Linked DNA regions of Homo sapiens: region 2 is linked to region 1. Evidence: promoter capture Hi-C in 16 types of primary human blood cells and fetal thymus (Javierre and others, 2016). All regions are on one chromosome and are shown on one strand. The core of a region is centred on a gene start or on the middle of the fragment in contact, and the rest is flanking DNA. Distances in the headings are between cores, read along the strand shown. Region 1 holds the start of ADGRG7 (adhesion G protein-coupled receptor G7). Region 2 overlaps TBC1D23 (TBC1 domain family member 23).

Region 1 (2,707 bases), core at 141-2,640:
TCGCCACTTTATTATAAAATAGGCTTTGTGATAGATGATTTTGCCCAATTTTATGCTATTGTATGTGTTTTGGGCACATTTAAGGTAGGCTAGCCTAAGCAAGGATGTTCAGCAGGTTAGGTGTATATTTAATGCGTTTTGACTTAAGATATTTTTTAACTTAAGGTGGATTTATTGGGATGTAATCTTATTGTAAGTCAAGGAGCACCTGCACTCCATAATAATTAAATATGATGATCTTTTATTTTAGCAGTTATGACTTGCCTTATAGGTGGCTATATCTAGGTATCTCACCCCTGAGAAATTATGAGTTCTTTGAGGACCCTGTTCATGTCTTGTACCAATTCAAACACATTAAAGGCATTTAATATGGATTTGATGAAGCAAGGGAGTGTCCAGAGAAGACCAGAGCATCTGTTCTCTCTACCAAAACAAAACTGTGATTGAGGAGGTGAATGTTCATGTATCTGTTCTTCCCTGTAAGGGTAGAGGGTAGGGAAGGAGAACATGGGAGCCTGGGCAGGAGAGGGTCAGAGCTGCATCTATAGAGAGACACCAGTTTGTAGTTACTCTGATGATGTATTAGTTTCCCAGGGCTGCTCTAATAAAGTACCACAAACTGGGTGGCTTAAACAACATAAATTTGTTGTCTTACAGTTTGGGTGGCTAGAAGTCAAGTCAAGGTGTCAGCAGAGCCAGTTCCTTCTGAGGACTCTCTCTTGTAGATGGCCGTCTTCTCTCTCTGTCTCTTCAGATCATCTTTCTGTATTCATGTCTGTGTTCAGATTTCTTCTTCTTATGAGGACACCAGCCATATTGATTAGTGACCACCCTAACAAACTCGTTTTAACTCGATCACCTCTGCAGTAACCACATCTCCATGTGAGGCCTCATTCTGAGGTACCGAAGGTTAGGACTCCAACATATGAATGTTGGAGGGGACACAATTCAGCCCATAGCAGGTGGGTTATCATGCTGGGCTTTAGTGCTTGTCAAGACCCAGCCTGTGCCAGTATGCACACTCACCAACTGCATCTGTCAAAATGTAGGCTCCTTAAAGAAATGCAAGCGCTAAAAACCATGTGTGGTGATTGCCATTTATCCTCTTATTGACAACCTAGTTCATTTCCCCGAGAGAGTGTTTTGTGTGGTCTGAAGCACCTGCCAGTCTATCTCTGCTGTACCCTCCCAAGACAAAAATACAGGAAGCCGAGCCATAGGTGACTACTGGCAACCACTGCCTTTGTGATTTCCTCTTTGGTTTCTTCTATTTTGTTCCCTTCCTTCACTCTGTGGCTTGTCTGGGCATTCACTCTTTGACCCTTGTGGCTAGTCCCTCCCCTTCTTCTTTATTGCCCTGAGTTATCTCCCTATTCCCATAACTCTAATCACTTTTTTCATGTTCTCCTTGAGTGAAGGATGAGGAAATTGAAAGCAGAGTATGCACCTTTTATTAGGAGATTCAAACTGCATCCTACTGGATTAGCCTCAAAAGTCCTAAAATACAAAGACATCCATCTGACAGATCACTGAGGGGAGGACTTGTTTTTCTGTTTTAGAATAGTTTCCGATTAAACTTTTTAGCTCAAGAAGAAAAGAAGCTAGTTATTTCTCACCCAGGAGTGGATTTGTGGTTTGGCTTCACCATGGCTTCCTGCCGTGCCTGGAACCTTAGGGTGCTGGTGGCTGTCGTGTGTGGACTACTGACTGGCATCATTTTGGGACTGGGCATCTGGAGGATTGTGATCAGGATCCAAAGAGGTAATGTTGTCCTGCTATGTTTAACTCAGAGTAAGAGAAGGTATGGGACCTCTGTCCCTGCCACCTGGTGCACAAGTACTGGGAGGTACCTTGTCCAGTCTGAGGCATTCCACCAAGGTGCCATTTATGGGATATAAAAGACCAAGTCAGTTAAGCCTAGCAGATGGTTGAATAGAAATGAATAGGTGTGGGTGTGAGTGGGCAGGGGGAAGAGTGACATAATTGAATTGGCCTCTTTATGCTCTTTTAACTCCAGACTGAATTGGTAGAAGAGTAATAATTAAAACGATTAGTAACACACATTTAGGTCTGTTTGGCTAAATTCAGGAAAGGGTAAATCGTTATGAACAAGGACACACACATGCATCAAACACATACACACACATGCATAACACACATACAATCAAACATACACAGAATGGAATTTCATTTTAAGAGAGAAGTTAAAGAAACTCATCACTAAGGTTTAAGTGAAATGATCTCATGGTTTGCATACAAATTTCCCACTTTCCAGATGTAGGAAACTAATCAAAAATTTAAAAACCATTTTTAAATGACTTTCCTGATTATTCAACGAACATTTGTTAGTCCCCCGCTGTGTGCCAGAGCTGGCCTGGAAAAGGAGGACGTGGGAGGGGAAGTAGTGAGTAAAACAATGATGTTAAAGAAAAGCCCGCTGGAACTCAGAACGCGAAATTTCAATGATCCTAATGCTGGATCCCTTGGGCTGTAGAGCTTCTCCGTAAAGGAATTCAATGTTGGATGGGCTACATACTCCCTTTCGTGAAAATCAGAGAAAGCTTCTAATGAAACAATAAATAAGGGTAAATAATGCCGATCGGGAAAGGCAGCAGGAGAGGCAGTATGCCCTCTGAGCAGGTAACTGGGGAGGACAGAAGGTTGGGGAGCTAGCAGGAGCATGGAGCATGGCTGCAAAGATCCAGTG
Region 2 (2,707 bases), core at 76-2,575, 300 kb before region 1:
TCTTAGGCTTTAATCATGGGAGTTAGGCTGTAACTTAGGATTTTGGGAACATTAGGATGTATTTCCTCCTGGTCATTGTTGATATTAACAAGGATTATGATTATCTTCTGTATATCATGACCTGATAACTAATGACTTTTGAGGTTCATACCCAGAGTGATGTACAAAAGGGGTTATTTTAATAAGTAGTGTTAAACATGTATTGGCCCTAGGCTCAGTGTTATTTATTAGGAATCCTGGTAACGATATAAAACTTGATTATTAAGCTTGTAATTCTCAAAAGTGTCTGAAAAGCATTCTTTTATAGTATAACCCAGATTTTAGAAAATTTTTTAAAACCATGAAGTATTTCTTTACCAAGAATAATCTCTCTTTCCGTAACTGTTAATGGCTAACAATGCTTCTTTATTATGGGAGAGATTGATTGATATCTCCTTATGGTATAACAAAAGTCACAATCGGTTTTCTGTTATCCTTTATGTCATAAAAATGTTGCAGAAATTATCTGTTAATACTTGAAAGATTTCCTTTCAAAGAAGAAAACGTAAAGCCTATACAGTTATCATCACATTGGCGTCAGTTAAGAAAAGTTATCCGTGTACAGAGGGTTTTAGAAGGAAGAATAGGAAGGTTTGCTCTAGCTTGGAGGCCTTTACTCCTTTACAGACGTGCAGAAAGAAATACCTGTGATTATTTCCTTCAGTCCTTTTTTCTCAGCTGTGACATGTTTATTGTATTTCGTTGGTAATGAATTTTTCCAAAGAGTGTTGATATTTTAGGTTTTTCTTTTTTTTTTAATTTATCTTAAGCACTGCAGCAGCACCTGGCAGACATTAATGTGGATGGACCAGAAAATGGATATGGCCATTGGATTGCTAGTACCTCAGGCTCAAGGAGCAGTATCAATTCTGTTGATGTAAGTATATGTAGAGAATATGTTACCGGATTTGGATAAGTTCCCAGAAAAGGTGATTAACTACTAAACCCCCACCATAACAGAAATGGAGTCAAAACATTTCAAACACATGCAATGAAGAGTCATATTATTGTGAGATTAATGAGATGATACAGCAAGCCATTATTTATTGTGAGATTAATGAAATGATACAGCAAGCCTTCACAGTTAAACTAGGTGGGAGCTCTTGAAGTTCAGCTGCTGAATTCAAATTTCTCCCTGTCCAGCTGTAGTTTGGTATCATGTAGTGACAGTTTTATGTTCCAGCTTAAATATCAATGGGGACAAATCTGGGTCCTGTAAATAGCTGGGACTCTTAAGCAAGCTGATTCCAGGCATCTCCCAGTTAGTTTTTGCCAGAATACTAGGGCTCATAATCATCTCGTGCACACTATGTCTGTACCCATCCCCATCACAGACTTAAATGATTTGGACTTGAGTCTATCCACATTTGAGAATTGGCCAGGCAGAGGAAGACAAGAACAAGTTGCCAATCCTATTTTATTTGATTTTTAGTTATTGAGATGTGTATTACTACCCAGTTTTGCTACAGTGGATAAATCTGTTTTTCTGTTCTTTGGAAATATTTGGGTAATAGGTCTTTTGTGCTTTTCCAGTACTTCAATATTTCATGTCAGTTGAATTAGATGTCATTAAATTATTCATAAATAATGGTCCTCACATACCTAGTGATTATTCTTTAAAACAGAAATAGAAGGAAAACTGCAGTACAAGGTCACAGTTAGTAGCTTGGGCTTACAGGTCTGACATACCTGGGTTCAGATTTCATCTACAACTTACTTTCTTCATGATCTCCAGCAAGATCTTTGAGCTGTGGTTTCTCCACCTGTGGAATATAAATGTTAACAACATAACCTTCTTTCTAAGGATAACTTGAGAATTAACAGTGCAAGTAAATGGAAAGTATAGTACCTGTCACCAGATATTTAATAGTAGTTATTACGAAATTGTAACTCACTACCTGTGTTAGTTGAGGTTTATCTTCAGCCATGCAAATCAAAATCAGATTATTTTCACATCAGCAGATAAGGTTTGTCTGAGAATCTTATTTTTAATTTGATACTCTTATTTTTAACTTGATGCCATTGTGTGAAATCACCATTACTTAGTAAACGTTTGCTATTTTCACTTTAAATAACTAAATAATATTTCATTTTATGGGTGTATTATAATTTATTCAGTTCTCTATTGTTCAATATTTACATTGTTTCCAGTTTTTTTCTGTTACAAACACTATTTAATTTTTGTAGTGATAAATTTGCATATGCCATGATTATTTTGTCCTGGAAGTGGAATAACTTGATTAAAATGTTACCAAAGTCCTTAGACTTCTGCATTATTATCAAATGGCTCTCCAAAAAACATTCTAATTTATATTCCCATTCACATCACTGGATAGTTTTTCTATTGAAGCTTTTATATTCAGATTTGAAAAACACTGATTGAGGCTATTTTAGAAATTATCTTAAAGAGCATTCTTTTCAAAGTACCAAAGAATTTTTACAGTTTAATTTGGCTCTGAATTTAGATATGGAAATAGAAACATAATTTTTTTTGTTGTTAATGACATTTCTTCTAAAAATGAAAGTAGGCCGGGCACAGTGGCTCACGCCTGTAATCCCAGTACTTTGGGAGGCTGAGGCGGGCAGATCACGAGGTCAGGAGATCAAGACCATCCTGGATAACACGGTGAAACCCCGTCTCTACTAAAAATACAAAAAAATAGCCGGG

What was found. The method cuts DNA at HindIII sites, captures the fragments that hold promoters and counts their contacts. A CHiCAGO score of 5 or more calls a contact.
Region 2: a fragment that was not itself captured here is called in contact with the fragment with the promoter of ADGRG7 in region 1 in 1 of 17 cell types (naive CD4 T cells); the score reaches 5.2 in naive CD4 T cells.

What each region holds. Positions count from the first base shown.
Region 1 is chr3:100,608,211-100,610,917 of GRCh38, forward strand. ADGRG7 (adhesion G protein-coupled receptor G7) reads left to right here and starts at 1,391. Exons shown (of 16, transcript NM_032787.3): 1 at 1,391-1,761. The coding sequence starts at 1,647. The HindIII fragment of the contact is 7,171 bases long and covers 1-2,559 here.
Region 2 is chr3:100,305,628-100,308,334 of GRCh38, forward strand. It overlaps TBC1D23 (TBC1 domain family member 23), which reads left to right. Exons shown (of 19, transcript NM_001199198.3): 13 at 810-916. Among named protein-coding and RNA genes, the nearest start is that of NIT2, 28 kb to the right of the region's middle. The HindIII fragment of the contact is 2,123 bases long and covers 265-2,387 here.